Regions from separate parts of the Homo sapiens genome. Here regions 1, 2, 3 and 4 are each linked to region 5. Evidence: promoter capture Hi-C in 16 types of primary human blood cells and fetal thymus (Javierre and others, 2016). All regions are on one chromosome and are shown on one strand. The core of a region is centred on a gene start or on the middle of the fragment in contact, and the rest is flanking DNA. Distances in the headings are between cores, read along the strand shown.

The links. The method cuts DNA at HindIII sites, captures the fragments that hold promoters and counts their contacts. A CHiCAGO score of 5 or more calls a contact.
Region 1: a contact is called between a fragment that was not itself captured here and the fragment with the promoter of DPH6 in region 5, in 11 of 17 cell types (naive CD8 T cells, total CD8 T cells, naive CD4 T cells and 8 more). The highest score is 28.1, in naive CD8 T cells.
Region 2: a fragment that was not itself captured here is called in contact with the fragment with the promoter of DPH6 in region 5 in 2 of 17 cell types (total CD4 T cells and activated CD4 T cells); the score reaches 6.1 in total CD4 T cells.
Region 3: a contact is called between a fragment that was not itself captured here and the fragment with the promoter of DPH6 in region 5, in 1 of 17 cell types (activated CD4 T cells). The highest score is 5.3, in activated CD4 T cells.
Region 4: a fragment that was not itself captured here is called in contact with the fragment with the promoter of DPH6 in region 5 in 1 of 17 cell types (fetal thymus); the score reaches 6.9 in fetal thymus.

What each region holds. Positions count from the first base shown.
Region 1 is chr15:36,581,532-36,585,113 of GRCh38, reverse strand. The region is part of intron 1 of CDIN1 (CDAN1 interacting nuclease 1); the gene reads right to left. Among named protein-coding and RNA genes, the nearest start is that of CDIN1, 3.7 kb to the right of the region's middle. The HindIII fragment of the contact is 3,124 bases long and covers 1-3,075 here.
Region 2 is chr15:36,599,348-36,603,003 of GRCh38, reverse strand. All of the region lies in intron 1 of CDIN1 (CDAN1 interacting nuclease 1), which reads right to left. Among named protein-coding and RNA genes, the nearest start is that of CDIN1, 22 kb to the right of the region's middle. The HindIII fragment of the contact is 7,589 bases long and covers 1-3,656 here.
Region 3 is chr15:36,555,385-36,559,300 of GRCh38, reverse strand. No RefSeq gene overlaps it. Among named protein-coding and RNA genes, the nearest start is that of CDIN1, 22 kb to the left of the region's middle. The HindIII fragment of the contact is 1,737 bases long and covers 1,509-3,245 here.
Region 4 is chr15:36,617,786-36,621,578 of GRCh38, reverse strand. All of the region lies in intron 1 of CDIN1 (CDAN1 interacting nuclease 1), which reads right to left. It also overlaps the pseudogene LARP4P. Among named protein-coding and RNA genes, the nearest start is that of CDIN1, 40 kb to the right of the region's middle. The HindIII fragment of the contact is 3,582 bases long and covers 263-3,793 here.
Region 5 is chr15:35,543,761-35,547,586 of GRCh38, reverse strand. It overlaps DPH6 (diphthamine biosynthesis 6), which reads left to right and starts at 1,422. Exons shown (of 9, transcript NM_080650.4): 1 at 1,422-1,468. The coding sequence starts at 1,446. It overlaps DPH6-DT (DPH6 divergent transcript), which reads right to left and starts at 1,392. Exons shown (of 3, transcript NR_038251.1): 1 at 1,114-1,392. RefSeq lists silencers at 950-999, 1,300-1,439 and an enhancer at 1,487-2,421. The HindIII fragment of the contact is 1,793 bases long and covers 859-2,651 here.

The DNA.
Region 1 (3,582 bases), core at 264-2,763, 1.0 Mb before region 5:
ATGTAGTGTTTGGGCAGGAAATTATAATGTAAAATATAACCTTATAAGTAACAGCTGATTGGACCAGGGGCTTCTAAGAATGTCCACAAGAAAGATTAAAAAATGTCAATCAATAAATATGTCCTCAGCAAGTACTTCAAATGTAGTATGTCCTATGTTTCAGGTGCCAAAGGGCCCATTACAGAAAGTCTTCAAATAACGTTATTTTGTTCAACATTATTTTGTTATAAAGTTGATGAGTATTTTTAAAAATTGTTTCCTGGCTGGGGCCACTGTCTGTGTGGAGTTTGCATGTTCTCCTGACGTCTGCGTGAACTTTCTCCCAGTACTCTGGTTTCCTTCCACATCTCAATGATGTACGTGTCTGCAGAACTGGCATGTCTAAATAGCCCCAGTGTGAGTGAGTATGGGAGTGTGTGTGAGCGTGTCCCGTGCTGGGATGGCTTCATACCTTGCAGCCTGAGCTGCCAGAGGCCACTCAGAATCCTAAACTGGAATAAGCGGGTTGGTAAATAAATGAATGAATAAGTGAATAAATGAATGAATACAAATTACTGTAAAATAAAAATTCATAAATCTATGATAATCATACAAACGCATGACAATAAAGATGCAGTACACAAGTGCTCAGCAAGCTCACCACATTTGTTATTGTTTGCTTTTTGTTTTTTGTTTTTAGAGACAGAGTCTAACTGTTGTGGCTCAGGCTGGACTGCAGTGGCACGTTCCTAACTCACTGCAGCCTCAAACTCCCAGGCTTAAGCAATCTTCTCACCTTAGCATCCTGAGTTGCTGGAACTACAAGCATGTACCACCACACCTGGCTAATTTTTAAATTTTTTTGAAGAGACAGGGTCTCGCTCTGTTGAACAGGCTATTGTTTGCTTTTGAATACATGGTGGTAAGAGGTGCTTCTCACAAATTTCACTTTGCAAACACATACTCTTAGATTTAATCCACCACCACTATGACCACCATCACTCACTGATTCACCAAAAATTGGGTAAATAATTATCTTACTTGTTTAGGCTCACATTAATTTCAATGTTTAATATTAGATGTGTTTTGGGTCTTTATTTTATTTTTTATGGTTTTTTTGAGACGGAGTGTTGCTCTGTCACCCAGGCTGGAGTGCAGTGGCGCCATCTCAGCTCACTGCAAGCTCTGCCTCCCAGGTTCATGCCATTCTCCTGCCTCAGTCTCCTGAGTAGCTGGGACTACAGGCGCCCGCCACCGTGCCCAGCTAATTTTCTGTATTTTTAGTAGAGACGGGGTTTCACTGTGTTAGCCAGGATGGTCTCGATCTCCTGACCTCGTGATCTGCCCGCCTCAGCCTCCCAAAGTGCCGGGATTACAGGCTTGAGCCACAGTGCCCAGCCTTGGGTCTTTATTTAGAAGTTTGGTGATGTTATTATGACCAGAAATATGCTATAGGAACTTAATTCTTGTTTATAACAATTAGCATATGGTAAAATTGCTCTCATTATACATTGTTTCACTTAAAGTTGCAGTCTCCAAAGCCCTACCGAAGACATTAAATGATGACTTACTGTATGGTAAAACTGTAGAAACGAAAATAGAATGAGGGTGAATTTTGGAGTTGTAAGATATTACAGATCACAAAGTCCTACTCCTTCATTTTAAAGTGAAGGATTCTGAGACCACGTAAAACACAGTGACTTGAAAAAACATAATTTTGTAACTTCAGTCAAAACAAGCCATGAAGAAGTGAGGCTACCCCAGAAGTCACAGTAAGAGGAAAAATTAAGCTGGAGAAAAAATTAAGCTACATCTTCACCTCTCAGCATTTACTAAAATAAATTTCAGCCAGAAAGATTTAAAAATTAAGAATAAAAAACAAAGCCATAAAGAATCTAAAAGAAAATTTAGGTGAAATATTTTTTTCTTTCATATATTAGGACAGAAAAGAACTTCCTAAGTATAAAGGCAAAAATGTCAGAAAAAAAAAGCATACATTTAAAAGTTAACCATATCAAAAGCAGAACAATATTTAAAATCAAACAACTGAGAAAATTTATGCAACAAATATGACATATATAGGACCAGCATCCTGAACATATGCAGATCAATAAGTAATAAATCAATAAACAATAACAACAGACATGCCAACAGAAAATTAGGCAAAGGATACCAAACAGGTAATTCAAAGGAAAATTAAGTGGTCAAAAAAATTTGGAAAAAGGTACAACCTATAATAATTTTTAAAATGCTAACTACAAGATGTCATTCTTGATCGAACATATTAAAGATTAAATAATGACTCTTCTCAATACTGGAAAAGTTGCAGAGACAGAGACTCTCACGCTCTGCTAGTAAAAGGACTAGTACAATTTTTTTAAATTTGTCAGTATACATCAAAATCCTTGAAAACATAATTATGCTTTGATTTGAATTAGCTAGTGATTGTCTAAGTGTGGCTGTGGACTTGGAGTCCCTGAGACCCTCTCACAGGTCTACAGGGTCAACACGACTATTTTTATAAAAATAGCAAGATAGTATTTTCCTTTTGCGCTGTATTCACATTTGGACTTATGGTACAAAAACAATGGTGAGTAAAACTGCCAGCTCCTGAGCATAAAACAAGGCACAAATCATAGGCATCATAACTGTACTAGTAGTCACTGTATTCACTGCCACACACGTGCAGGAAAAACAAAACAAAACAAGACTTTCACTAAAGAATATTCTCTTATTAATTGCATTAAATCTCAACCCTTGAATACACAACCTTTTAACATTCTGTATGACTAGAGTAAATACAAAGCACATATACTTCATATCAAAGTATGATGGTTGCCTCCCAGGAAAGCACTTGTATGACTGTTTGAGAGCTGAACTAGCTACTTTTTCTAGGGAACACCATTTTTACTTGAATTAATGATAACAAAGTATATTATTCAGATTTAAGTATCTGGCAGACACTTTCTCAAAAATAAACAATGTGAGCCTGTCATTTCAAGGAAAACAACTAATAGCATTTGTTGCCAATGATAAAATTTGAGCTTTCAAGGGAAAATTCAAATACTGGAATGCTCATATCCATCACCACAAGCTTGACAGCTTCAAATCTTACAGACTTCTGATGAGATTAGAGATGATATTAACAAATGTAATTTTTTGATATTGTATAATGAAAGGTGACATTTGTAAGATCTGCACAACTCACAAGCAACATTTTACAAAGGAATAATGCACGATGATAACAAATCAGGCATGGGTAAAAGATCCATTCAAGTTCAAAATAGGCCAATGGATTGTAATGCAACAAGGTAACAATCACCTTGATGTGGTGATTCACCCACCTCAGCCTCAGGAGTAGCTGAGTAGCTGGGTCTAAAGGCACATGCCACCACACCCAGCTAATTTTTTGGATTTTTATTAGAGACGGGGTTTTGCTACGTTGCCCAGTCTGATCTGGAACTCCTGGCCTCAAGTGATCCTCCCATCTCGGCCTCCCAAAGCGCTGGGATTACAGGCGTGAGCCACCACACCCAGCCCTAAATAGCTCTTTAATCCCTTCTTTTGCGGATTAGTAGTTCAGCTCTCTCTAAATAAAGTTTC
Region 2 (3,656 bases), core at 871-3,370, 1.1 Mb before region 5:
ACTTACCTTTTTTTTTTTTTGAGACGGAGTCTCTGTCACCCAGGCTGGAGTGCAGAGGCATGATCTCGGCTCACTGCAAGCTCTGCCTCCCGCATTCACGCCGTTCTCCTGCCTAAGCCTCCCAAGTAGCTGGGACTACAGGTGCCTGCCACCACGCCTGGCTCATTTTTTGTATATATATTTTTTTTTAGTAGAGACGGGGTTTCACCGTGTTAGCTAGGATGGCTCGAGCCTCGATCTCCTGACCTCGTGATCTGCCCGCCTCGGCCTCCCAAAGTGCTGGGATTACAGGCGTGAGCCACTGCGCCCAGCCCAACTTATCTTTAAGAATCACTTTAGAACCACTTTACCAGTTACACAAGAAAACCAACTTCACAGTCACATCTCACATCTCACCAAAATACAGGGTGGCCACCACGTCTAGAAACACAGATAAATACAATAAAGGATTTATTGTTATTGAATTATAACACATGGCAAAATAATTATGTCTCTAGAATTTATGGTCACCTAGTAACATCAGCCCCCTTATTTTTCAAACTTAATAATGCCTTTTGTCTCCATTCTCAAAAGTACCAAAGACACTGTGTCACACACTCCAAAAATACTTGCCAAAAGAGAAGTCCCAAAAGTGTTTTTGCTATCATTACAATGTGTCCGCAGTAGGAAATAGTATTCATTATAGCACTTTTAAAACTGTGAGCCATTAATTTATAGTTGCAATACATGTGAGGGAAAATAAAAGTTTGGTTATTGGAGGACATTAGAAGAGTTAAGTAGAAGACAAGATGCAGGCGCTGATAGCCTGGCAGGCACAGGGCACACCACCAACCAAAACCATCAGCCCCTTCCACTGGAGTGGCTGGAAGCGTTCACGCTGAGCACATACGCTTAAGAATTCACAGTAAGTGAAATTCAAACTCTTTCCCTCTTACTGTTACATAATAATTTTTCAACACCCTAACAAGATTTTTCATGTCTTCCTAATCCCAATTAGGAATAATAGTAGCTTTATCACTATGAATACAAAAAAAAATTGAGAGCTGCTATCGATAAAACCCTGAGTGTTTTGGTGTATGGTGCAAGTTAATGATTCAGTGATGCTATGATCGTGTCAGGTTCATGACGAATTTTCAGAGAGCAGCCCAGAAAAGTCAATCAGCACTGCTGTCTATTTTTATGATGCTGGAGGCAGTACAATGGTAGAGCTCACTAGCACTGTGTGCCAGGCAGGACACGAGGATTTTACTCATACGGTTAGGAATTCCAGTCCCAGAGAAGGCCAAAAGCAAAGGTCTAATGTAGACAGTTAAGATAAAGCAGCTTAGCTTGAAGAGGAAGCTAAAAATGTTCTGCTTTGGAAACTGCCATATTTGTGACCTCATGGCAGACTGAGAAAACCAAAGAGCTCCAGAAATCACACAAGTAGTTAGTTCACTGGGGTTTTACAATGCCCTGTGGCTGCTCAGTTGTGAATCCCCTGAAAAAACAAGTTCATGAGGTTTAATAATAGGTGACAGATCACCTCAGTAGGTCGTTTTGCAAAAATATCCATGCCAAAGACCACAGAGGTACCTGTTGGACATGGTCAAGGGTGGTAAGTATTACACTAGTCTCCATCTGAATCATGTAAGCTACAAGCCTAAGACTACGAAAAGAAAATGGGGTATAGAAAAAGGACAAATCTCCAATCACAAATCTACCTTGATTCCAGCCACTAAAATTTCACATAAAGGTCCCTTTTCAGTCCAAGTTACCCCGTGCTGAAGGGTAGGACAGTTACACATCGTACCTAGTCTCAACCCCTAATGAAATCCCAGTTGGTAAAGTCATTCACATTCTAAAAGGGAACCAACTCCTCACACTGCAGAATGTTAGCACTGCACAATAATCCACAGTTAAGTAAACTCTGAAAGGAACCTTTTACTTTTTTTTTTTTGATACCCCTACTTGGGACATCAAAACACTGTAGCATTACTTCCTAAAAATAATAGAAATTATGTTGAATCACATGAAACAAATTTACTCTCACTCACGAATAAAAGTCAATCACTAACTTAGAATTAACCATTGAAATAGGAAAAATGACATAAAAATGGATTGAAAAGTCTATCTACAAATGTTAAGGTTAGCATTCATCTAGGATCCATTTCTTTTGTCCAGTTTTACATCAAAGTTTCATAAACTACTGAAAACTATACTTTGATGGAAAACATGCCTCCAATACTAGTTCTCCTGGTATAAATGGTCCCAGAATTTATGTCTTTGACATGTGGCCACGGATTTTCACACTGCCACCAAAGTATTCAGTTAATATACAAATTTCTACTAAACCAAGCCATAAACAAATCTTTAACTGAAAAGCTCTGTCTACTCGTTTATAATCTGTTACCTGGAAAAAAAGCAGAAGGTCTCTCTAGCCACCTAATCACCATATCAATGACACATGCCACAAGAGAGAAGCACTAGTTTATTTGATTGATCATGGTAGATAAACTCCAAATAACAGAGAAATTAACAAATGCTTGACATTTGCTCAACATCCATTATTCTGACACTGCTTTCAGAATTTCAAAGCCTGGGAGTATGCTTAATCAACATTCATATTCCCTCGTGAACTACAGGCACCATATTGCACCCCGCCTTCATACTGATGAAAACTGCATATTGGCCATTTCCAAAATGTTCTGGGACTCCACACAGGGCCCCTTTTCTCCCTTGTTCCTGCTCTGCAGTTTTCTTTTAAACACTTCCAAGACAAAAGCATCTGCCAGTTTTTCTCTCTAGGGATGTATGCAAAATGAACTTAACAGTTTTAAGGCAGGAGTAACCCTCACATCTAAATTCATTCATAGGACAGAAAAGGGCCTAAGAGGCCTCTCCAGGGACAAAACCCTGCTGAAATTCTCCCCACACACAACAGTGGGAGCTTTATAAAATCTAAGTCCAGACAATTTCCAATTCAAATGCCCAACATAGCATGACCTTTGTCAGATCTCTGAGCCCAAGATGCACCCATGATTTTTTATTCTAACCAGCACAGACATTAGACAGGGCACTATTGCTAAGCAGGAGGTTCAATATTTGCATGCTCTTCTATTGTGAAAATGTAACAGTGACAGCACTGTGTCAAATTCTTTTCCCTCTAGAACTTTAACTCCATAGGAGAGGCATGGCTGACAGATGACTCCCCAACATCTGTGTTATGTACACTGCACAGCTGAGGAGCCCTGGATCACTGTCAGAACATCGTGGAGCTGACCTGCACCTTTCTTATGCCTTCTTCTTATCCCTGCCCCAACCCACAAATATATAAATATCTATAATACAAATAGTGCAATTTTTAACAAAATATAAAGATGGCAAGACAGATTAACATAATTTAGTCATTAAGCTGTTCACGTAGCAGCTCAACATATGTTGTATAAATGTCCTATACCGAATAATTTATCAGATCTGACACAGTGCACATCATATTGTTTTATTTAATACACTTACTAAAATTTCATGGATCAAGCATCACTTCTTAAAGCACTGAGAAAGCACTAGAAAATATTTATTCACCTCCTGTGATTTATTTTGATTACCCTTACAGCTACATGATAAAGTGGAACTCACAAAATTACAAGGTTAAGGTTTACACAGCCATTGCTTCA
Region 3 (3,916 bases), core at 1,128-3,627, 1.0 Mb before region 5:
GTCATTCGATTATCCAATGAGCCAAGGTACCCATTTAATAATACAGTTAGCATATATAAAGTACTTTGTCTTTAGGCTGTGCTAAGGGCTTTATACATGTTATCGCTGAAAATTTTGGCAGGAGAAACAGAGGCTGAGAGAATATTGTCAATTTGCCCAACATCAAACAATTGGTTAAGTGAGATGTGAACGAGGTATTTTGGCTCCAAATCTACATGCTTAACCACAAAACTCCATTGCCTTTTCTTCACACAACTATTTTCTTCCCTTGGCAAAAATATTAGTCAAGATATGATTAGGCTTAGTTAAATCTTACAAACAAATCTAACAACACTTTTAGTGGGAAATGCTACAGAATTGTGATTGCTTGTCTCAGAACTGTCATACTTTATTTATCTGAGGAATATTAGCATATTTTATCAGATTGACATGATTTAGGATTCAAACGTTTGAAAAAGTGTTCCTTAGCTTTCACTTTAGAATACACACAGCTACCTGAACCTTTGAAAGATCCAGTTAGAAACCCAATCCCCTTTTTCCCATGAATGAAGAATACCTACCGATATAATGTGTATGAATTAATTTTTAAAAGTAGAGATTTGCAGAATGGTCATAAAGACTTCCACCAATTAAAAATTTTAAACTCAGGAAGATACTAGATTCAGAAAATTTCAAACGGAATTTGTTTGCTCATGCTTAATGAAAGGAGGGGAAATAAATCCGGATGTTCTCATTTCTTTGTATCTGTAATGTGACCTCCCTTTAAAACAAATTCATGCTTTCATAAGTCACATTGCATCTAAGTAATTTTGCTTTAGACACATTGTTTATTATGAAGAAATAGGTGTAGTACCTTTTTCCTCAAATTCCACTTTGTAAAAGAAAAATACTTCAGGTAAAAATTATATATTTAGTATTTATAAATCATTTTTCAGGTTTCCAGCTAATAGCCTACTCCAGAAAATGGCAAAACATACATAACAATGTGGATATTAGTAGTTTCTGATACCCAGTTCTGATTACAAATCACCATATTTACCTTTCTAAAAATTTCTTGCGATAACATGTGAATTTTGGAATAAAACATCTCACAAATCCAAAATTAGAAAAATTGTTTATATCAGTATATAGTAGGTATAAAGTGGATAGATTATAGCCCAAAATTTTAAATGAATTTTCTCTTGACTTAATATATAGAACTTTCTTAATGTATTAATTGGGTGTTTTTAAAATAAGCCATTATATTTATTTGCCTATGGAGGCTGATTAATATAGTGGTTGAGAGCTAGTAAACTGTTCAGAAAAAACAACCCTGATTTGTAGTATTTGCCAATTTCCACTATGTAAATACATAATATTTCCACCATAGCCAATTTCAGTCTGTGAACATGAAGTTACTGAACTTGAAGTTGGGAAAAGATGCAGGCAATTAGTTTTCAAGCTTGTAGGATTCAGCTCCTGCATACCACCTTTGAGATTCCAGGCTTAAAGTTGGCAAGACCTAAGCTTACCTTCTAGTTCTGCTACATACTAGATGTATGAATTTACTTAATCATTTTCATGCTCCAATTTTGCCAGATATAATATAAAAGCAGGATAATACTTGTACCTATCTGCAGTGAACAGATGAGATAATATCTGCAAAGGACTTAGCAGAGGACTTGGCATATAGAATGGGATTTTTATGTGTTAACTCCCCCATTCTCTGGCAACCACTAATTTACTTTCTGTTTCTATATATTTGCCTCCTCTGGGCATTGCATGTAAATGAACTTAAACAATATGTAACCTTCTGTGTCTGACTTTTTTCATTCAGCATAATGTTTTCAAGGTGCATCCATATTGTAGCCTGTATCATTACACACTCCTTTTCATCAATGAATAGTATTCTACTGTATGGATATATCACATTTTAAAAATCCGTGTATCAGTTGATGAACATTTGGTTTGTTTCCATTATTTGATTATTATGAACATATTGCTGAAAGACTTAATATTGTTTAAGATGGCAATACTACCCAAATCTATAGACTCAATGCAATCTATGTCTATATTAATTAAATCTATACATCTATAGTCAATTGATTGTTGACAATGGTGCCAAGACTATTCAATGTGAAAAAAATAGTCAAACTCATGTGCGAGTTTTTGTGCAAACATATGCTTTCAGTCCTTTTGGGTACATACATAAGATTGGAATTTTTCACTAGTAATGTATGCAGGTTCCAATTTCTTCATATCCTCACCAAGAGTTATTAATTCCTATTTGTAAAATTATAACCAATTTAGTGTATGTTTTATTAAGTGTATATTTTATTAAGTGTATGTTTTATTAGTGTATATTTCATTGTGGTTTTGATCTGCATTTCCCTAATGACTAATGATGTGGCTAACCTGTTCATGCATTTATTTGCCATTTGTATATCTTTTTTGGAGAAATAGCTGTTTGTCCAAAATATCCTTTGTCCAGTTTGTTGTTGTTGTTGTTGTTGTTGTTGTTGTTGTTGTTGTTGTTGTTTGGGATGGAGTTTCTCTCTTGTTGCCCAGGCTGGAGTGCGATGGCACAATCTCGGATCACTGTAACCTCCATCTCCCAGGTTAAGCGATTCTCCTGCCTCACTCTCCCAAGTAGCTGGGATTACAGGCGTGTGCCACCATGCCCAGCTAATTTTTTGTATTTAGTAGAGACGAGGATTCACCATGTTGGTCAGGCTGGTCTCAAACTTGAGCTCAGGTGATCCATCCACCTGCCTCCTAAAGTGCTGGGATTACAGGCGTGAGCCACCGCGCCTGGCTGTCTTTTTTCCAGTTTTTAATTAGATTGACTTTTCATTGTTCCTTTTTGTCTGTTTTTACTTCACTTGTTTTTAAATACTTTTGAGGAATTTTTATTGTTCTTTATATAAAATATATTCTGGGCATGAGAACTTTATCAGATATATGATTTATAAAAATGTTCTTTCACCTTGTGGATTATCTTTTCACTTTCTTGAGAGTGTCCTTTGATGCACAAACATTTTTAATTTTGATTAAGTCCAACTTATCTATATTGTTTTGTTGCTTATGTTTTGGTATCATAGTTAAGAAATATCACCCAGGCTGGGCACGGTGGCTCATGCCTGTAATCCCAGCACTTTGGGAGGCCAAGGTGGGAGGATCACCTGAGGAGCAAAACTCCGTCTCAAAAAAAAGAAAAATTGCCTGATCCAAGGTTATGAAGATTTACATCTATGTTTCCATAAGCTTTGTGTATTTGGTCAATTCTGAGATTAATTTTTATATGTGGTGTTAGGTATGGGGTCCAGTTATTTACATATGGACATCCAATTGTCCCAGTGGCATTTCTTAAAAAAACTATTTTTTCTTTATTGAATAGTCTTGGCACCATTGTCAAAAATTAATTGAGCTGGGTGCGCTGGCTCATGCCTGTAATCCCAGCACTTCGGGAGGCTGAGGCAGGTGGATCACTTGAGGCTGCTGTTCAAGACCAGCCTGGCCAACATGGTGAAACTCTGTCCCTATTAAAAATACAAAAATTAGCCAGGTGTGGTGGTGTGTGTCTGTAATCCCAGCTACTCAGGAGGCTGAGCTGGAGAATCACTTGAACCCAGGAGGCAGAGGTTGCAGTGAGCCAAGATGGTGCCACCGCACTCCAGCCTGGGCAACAGAGCGAGACTCCATCTCCAAAAAAAAAAAAAAAAATCAAATTGACTATAGATGTATAGATTGCATTAATACAGACACAGATTTCATTGAATCTACAGATTTCGGTAGTACTGCCATCCTAACAATATTAAGTCTTTCACTTAATGAATATAGCATGACCTTTTATTCATTTAGGTCTTTAATTTATTTTAACAATGTTTTGAAGTTTTCTTCACTTCCTTGGTTAAATTTACTTCTATTCAATTATTTT
Region 4 (3,793 bases), core at 804-3,303, 1.1 Mb before region 5:
AAAGGACCTAAACTTCCCCCAAATTTCAGCACAGGTAGTTTCATTGTATGTTTCACCTAGTAGGTGATTTTTAAAAAATAGTGTATAGAAATGAATAGTTTCAAACTGAGTAAATATAGTATACCATGTCATAAAACAACCAAATCAAAAACAACTGCCATGCTAACAATAAGTCAAAGAAATAGTAATTCTGGCTTGTACAGATACGTGCAGTGTTTTCAAAGCTCTTAACAGTTAATCGCTAATACGTATCTCCAAAGCTTAACTTAGAGTTGGAAGGTGAATTTCACAGTAATGTAATTTTAACCACTATTTACATTCACTTTAATATATTACCAAGATGCTTACGCTATGTCACAATGGTGCTTTCCAGTATTCACAATTTACACGTAATTGTACACACATAATCTAACATATGGGACAGTTCTTACTATTACAAATTATCCCTTAAAAGAAAAATAAAACCCACCTTACATAGAACTCTAAACATGGTATGACTTAAAACAGATAAACACAACATGGCTTTTAATATTTTAGCCATTTTCTAAATAACAGCATGTAAACTTGTGTATTTAGTATATGAGAGCTACAACTTGATTCACTGAGAAATTATGCATTAATTTTCTTCAACCATCTTTCTCATCTTTACTAAAAAATCTCATGACTTGCTGGTTCTGTTTCAGTGAATTCCAAACTGTATTTTTTGGGTGTGGGGGAAGAAGAGGAGGAAAGGAAGGTGATAAATACACTGTAAACAGAAATAAGTCCCCCCCCAAAATTAAGCCTTTAAAAAAAAAATAATATTTTACTTCTACACTATTTAACACTTAAGAGTCAGTCACAATGTTTCATCTTTAACACTGACAGCAAATAAATTACTGTAAGGTCAGTCCGCCTTACCATCTTGGGACCTAAAATTCTCAATGTGTGAACAGAAGAGTAAATACTTCAATGTTCAATTCTGAAATTTAGAACAATTTATATGATTTGACTAGACTGGTCAAAGCAATGACAAATATAATTCAGTAAGTAGTTGGTTATTTTGCTTTTGGGGATGGGCAGTCAAAGAACAGAGAATAACATATGGAGTAAGAAAAAAAAATTGTTTCCCATTTTAGCAGGGGGAATCACAGGGAATTTTAAGACTCTGAAATATATTTCACCTACACACTGAGGTCCAAGATAATTTTCAATTTATTTTTATTTTTATTTTATTTTTATTTTTTTTGAGACAGAGTTTCGCTTTGTCGCCCAGGCTGGAGTGCGGTGGCGCCATCTCGGCTCACTGCAAGCTCCGCCCCCCGGTGTCACGCCATTCTCCTGCCTCAGCCTCCCGGGTAGCTGGGCCTACAGGCGCCCGCCACCACTCCCAGCTAATTTTTTGTATTTTTAGTAGAGACGGGGTTTCATCGTGTTAGCCAGGATGGTCTCGATCTCCTGACCTCGTGATCCGCCCACCTCGGCCTCCCAAAGTGCTGGGATTACAGGCGAGAGCCACCGCACCCGGCCGAAATTTTCAATGTTTTTAAGAAACCCCATTCTTTCCTTGAGTATCAAACTGATTAGTAGTCACATGTCCAAGTACAATCACAGTTTTACAACTTGTTGAAGGAAATATTAGTAAGGTCAAAAAGACAGACTCAATTTCAAACTAAAAAAAAAAAATCTACTCAAGTTTTACATTCAGTTTTCAAATCATTTACTAACATGACAACAGATTTTGCTTCAATCGCTCTTGTACACACTCACACCCACAACAGGCACCCCAGCCACTAATCCGCTTTGCAATACAAGGCCATATAATCAGAGATGGCATTCTCCACGCCAAACTTTAAATAGATTTTAAAAAGTAATTTCTAATTTTACAGAAATGCTTCTTCAAAAAATATTTCCTCTCACTCCCTCATCTCCTATACTGAAGGATGTATAATGTTGTTTTTTTTTTTCCTCCAAGCTGAAACTGAACCCTCAAAATTGATTCCTGGCAGCAAATCTCTGCAAATTAAAACCAAAAACAAAAATAGAAAAAATACACTTTATATGTGTGTGTGGATGGATGGATAGATAGATAGATAGATAGATAGATAGATAGATAGATAGATAGATAGAAATCCTCCAGCATTTATAAATCACATCAGAGATGAATTTTGGGATCCTATCACTCACAACTCCAAAATCCATAATGATTTAAGGATGTACTTTCTCCTGTTTCCTTCCTGGTTACCCTCTCCCCTCCAAAACAGTTCAATATAGCTACAGCTCAAGTTTAACGGGAAGAGAGAGAAGTTTTTGAATAGTTTTGTTGTTTTTTACTTTGGTGATCTGGGTGGCACATATTGCTCTTTGCCATTACGTCATGTCACTCCCTGAGGTATAGCCCTACGACTAAACTGGCATCTCTGTTCCCTGATTTTTCCAGCTGCTCCCCTGGGAATGGTATGGCCTCAGAAGCCAGAATAATCCTTACTAGCCCTTGCTTCTGGCTTCTCATTTGGTTTCTCAAGGGACTTCTAAGGAGCTTCATTGTCTTTGTTTGTCGTGGGAGACACTACATTGGAGCGAAGTTCCCATAGTGGCTACACAAGAACTGAAGATGGCTCTTTAGGGGGCTTCTGGCACACTTCAGCATAACTTAACTTTCAGGGTTCCTGTAGAGTCACGGTGTAGCTACATTTATGTTACGATTACATGGTGAGGCAGTACTTGCCCTCCATGGCTTTGTAGTACTTGGAGGAGAAACTGGTATAGTTGTCTGGTTGAGACCATCCTTCTGAACAGAGGAATCCTCTATTAGATCCTTTTTTTTTTTTTTTTTTTGGCTGAGTTGTGCTTAATGCAGTAGGCTCAGCTGCACATGGAGAACTGGTACTCATACTGAGTTGCTGGGCAGAAGTGCATTCTGTCTGCTCATCTGCAGGCACTGGGCAACTAACTCTCAACACTTCATTATCCTTTTCTTTGTAGACACCTTTAACAACATCAGACATCCTATTCTCCAAAATGAGTTTATCTGGGATTCTTGATGAACTTCCAGGTAAAGGTGGAAAATTTGAGGCTAGTAAGTCAAACTTTGGTGTTGGAGGCTTTGATTCAGCTGTTGAAGGATGAGGTCTTGAGATTGACATCTTGTCGTCATCTTCGACCTCTGAAAAGAGTTCTCCTGCCCCTACCATAGTCCCCATTTTGTTCCATCTGCAAAGTGGAAGTCTCCTTTTGAAGTTAAGTTTGCTCCTAATCCCCAGTTACTGTAGGATTATGCTTTCAGTTGAAAAATTTTTTGAACTAGATCTGTTCAATTGTCCATCCCCCAATGATACAGAGTCCTCTGTTGAGTGTTCTGAACCACTGGATGACCTAAAATGAGGCTTCAGGTTTTTTTTTGGAATGGTCGACCCATATTCATAGCAGTAGCATGTCTTTTATAAGATCCTGGTGAATTAATGCCATTCACAAAACTACCATTGGGAAAGCGGGCCAGTGGTGTTTCAAAGTAAGGTGTAGGATTTGGAGACCAAGACTGAGGAATAATACTATAGACCGAGAACTGCTGGTGAAGATTATATACAGGCTGCATAAAGACTGGGGAGGCATACTGTGCTTGAGTCTGAATGGGCTGACTATAGATACTAGAATCCATTAATTAGTAACAATTCTTAGCAAAAAATGTATTGATGGCTTTTATCCTTGCCATAATTGGCTTGCCCTGAAATGTTTTAACTTCTTCTCTTAAGGATTTAAAAGCCTTTTGTGTATCTGTGTCTGACTGGAAAGTGATATACCAGCTGCTACTGTG
Region 5 (3,826 bases), core at 173-2,672:
ACCTGGCATAATTTTAAGTTCCCTACATATATTAACTTACTTAATTCATGCCTTTGGCATCATCCCTCATGACTTTCTTTCTCTTGTATCCCATATCGAATTTGATTCTATTGGCTCTATCTTCAAAATAGAGCTGGAATCCTCTTACTTCTCACCAAATTCACCATGTTGATTCTAGGCTCCGCCATCTCTCTACTGGAACACTGTAACAGCTTCCTAATAGGTGGATTCTCAACACTGCAATCCTTTTAAAATTTTAAGTCACACCCTTCAAAAGTCTGCAATTACCTACAAGACCCTATATAATCCTTCCCCTCCATCACCTTAACCTGCTCTCCACTACTCTCTGCTTTGCTCAATCTGCTCCAGCAACACGGATCTGCCTTAATCTTCCACAAACACACAACGCACCTAGAGCCTTCGATTTTTTTTTCTTGTCTGGAGCACACCCCAATCATACACATAGCGAACTCTCCTTATTTAAATTGGCTCAACTCTCATCTTACCAATAAGGCCTACATAGACACGATTTAATTCTGCAATTTGCCTCTCCACCTCTCTCCTGACTCTCCCCCACCGCACCCCGCCCCTTTCCAATAGCACTTTTCACTCTTCAACAGACTATTTACCTTTAAGATATGTATTGTCTGTTCTCTCCATCCCCATTTAAGCTCTATGCCCGGAATGCCGGGTTTTTGTTTTATTTACGGTTGTATCCACAGAGTCTAAAACAGTGCCTGGTACACGAAAGGCACTCAATACATACTTGGCAAATAAACTTAGAAGCTAGATTTTCTTTCTGCAAGGCCATTGCTCTTTGGTGAAGAGCCTGGCCTGGCCTTGTCAAATACACAAGCTTGACCAAGAGCCAAAGCCACAGAGGGCCTAGAGGTGGGGGGGGCTAGCCCCAGATTTAAAAATTACCACAGCCCCTGGGGATCTGAGTTTCACATCTGGACACACAGGTTTGGAGGACAGAGGAGATGTAAGTTAAAAAGCAGAAGTGTACAGTTGTTTCTGTTCTGTGGGGTGAGGAAGGACAAATTTCTTCTGCGCTTGCACGTCCGCAACTGTGTCAATTTGCAGCAATTGGGACGCTAAATCCCCTCTTACCAAAACAAATCCTGCGCCACTGGGCTTGGGCTCTGCAACGCGGACCTTGCCCTTCCCCCGGCAGCTTCAGTGCCCTCACTTAGGTGGTTAGGCCGTGCCTAAACCTCATTCTTTCCTGGGCCGAGATGTCCCTGCCACAGGGTCAAGGTGCCAAGGTGCCGCACCCTCCGCGCTCAGGTGTCCCGCAGGCAGCCGCGGGGCTCGCAGCGCCGATCCGCGGACAGGCGGCGGAGCGAACACCCGGGCGAGGCCCCGCGGTGCGTCACGCGAGCTGCGGCGCGACCTCCTGGCTCCCGCCCGCGCTCGCCGCACGCACGCGCACTGCGCCCAGCATGAGGGTCGCGGCTCTGATCAGGTAATGCGGTCCTGGAGCCGCCTCCTTCCTCCTAGGCCAGGCTCTCGTCCCTTCCAGCCGCCGCTAGCGCCGAAAGAGTGGGTGTCTCCGTCTGAGTCGCGCGTTGGGGGTTCCGCGGCTCCTCCGAGCCACAGGAAGAGGCGGAGCCTTCGCTGTTGCCGGCCCGCATGTGCCTCGGCCCCTGGCTGGCGCGCCTCCTCCCTGTCTGTCGCTCTCTGGTCTTCTAGCCCTTAAACTTGGATTCCCATTGGATTCAAGTGGGAAATTAAAAAAAGTACCGACGCCTGGGCCCCACCGCCAGAGGGATTGGTTTAATTACTTCTGTGCGACCCGGCGTCTGATTTTTTTTTTTCAAGCTCTAATGAGCCGTGAAGTTTGGAGCCACTACCTTATTCCATCAACTCAGTTAATAACCCTCGCCCTTTCCCCCTCGCTTTCTTCGTCCTCTTCTGTAGTTCCTTTGGTCAGCTGGGTCCGCCGCAGCCTGGCTTCCTCCCTAGTTGTAAGTGTTTCCGCCCATCCCAAGAAGTCCACCCCTCCCTCATCTTCACAGATGTGGATTGCTTATGGCATGTGTGTGTTTCTGCCTTTGGGCACTCAAGTACAGAGATCTCTCTTCGTGGTAGAGACCGAATTGTACTAGTCTTATGCTAGATCCAGTTGCTGTTGCTTCGGACTCTCATCATTGCTTTAGAGTGACCTTACCCTATACTCCGTATTCCAAAAGGAGTTTGATGTCTGTAGTAACCAAATCATAAATTTAAGTGTCTAAATAAGTCCTGTGACTGACAAACCAAAAACAAACCTGCTTAAATATTTCCATACTCAATCTATAAACTGAGGCAGAAGGGAACACACTAGCAACATTAAAAAGTTAGACTACTTAAATACTTGTTTCATGAGATTTTGCCCTGTAGAGTGTCTTAGATACAGTGCAACGATGTGCTTGCTTTTGTAATCCAATTGAAGATTTCATAAACGTTTTCGTTAAGTCCCTTAGGTAATTGATACTGGCTGTAAGTTTTGACCTATTAAGGACTTGATATGAGATTTCAGACCTACTGTAGTGTCTGGAATATTCCGGTTCCCTTTCCTTCAATGTCATTTTTAGGAGACTAGACCATAATGTCACAATAATTATTGTTGTTCAGTAAATGTCCTCTGTAACATAAATGATTAAGCTTTAACCATTGTGTCTTATTTTAAGAATTAAAAGTACCCCAGGAAGTGAATAATTCAAATTTACATCGCTTGCCAAAAGTTTAACGATTAAAGTAAAGCACAACAAACAAAGACTTAGAAGTATTGGAGGGGAGGAGAGAAGATTGGTAGAGTCAGTTACACTAAATAACCTGTAATGTGCATATGTTGCTTTATAATAAAAAAAGTTTGCTAAAAAAGCAATGTTGGAAAATTCTTGCTGAAGCGTAAGAGCTGTAAGGACATATGCTGTAAGTATGAATACGTAAGCATTTACCTGTATGCTTATGATACAGATGCCTATGTATTCTATATATATGCATTATATATAATTATGTATTATAAGTGAATAAGTGAAACTGGGATTCTTACATATCTTTCTAAGAAGATTATTTTCCTTTTTTAAATTTTTTTTTTATTATACTTTAAGTTCTGGGTTACATGTGCAGAACGTGCAGTTTTTTTACATAGGTATACATGTGCCACGGTGGTTTGCTGCACCCATCAACCCATCACCTACATTAGGTATTTCTCCTAATGTTATCCCTCCCCTAACCCCCAAACCCCCACAGGCCCCAGTGTGTGATGTGCCCCTCCCTGTGTCCATATGCTCTCATAGAACATTATTTTTCTAATAAATAAATGAGTCTTTGAATTTTATAGTTGAATGTTATTTTGAGGATTATCCAGGCAGACCATTCATTAATTTGCAATGAAGTATGCAAACCTAAGCACATTGAATAACTTAGCTTAGTATCCCAGAGTTGGAAACTAAAATAGAGCTGTGAGACCTCTCACCTAACATACATGTGTACTTAATGGAGTTCTAAGAGGACAGTAAGGTACTCTGCATTTCCCAAGCTTGTCTGATATTCAAAACCTTTTGTTAGAGTAATTGGTTAGTATTTTGTTGGACACCAGTGTTCCACAGAACACAGTTTGGTAAATACTGCTTAAAACCATATTTGAAATGTTGGCATATTTCAAAATAAATTGTCAGACTCAGTTCTGATTCTGGATGCACACCCTTCAGTCTTTAATATCTGAAACAATTAGTCATATCTTTTTATCCTGGGGAATCAGAGCAGTAAGGTTCGATATGGGAAGTTGTGGAAGACCTACTTATGGGGATACCGAACCTGAAGAGAGGAAGAATGG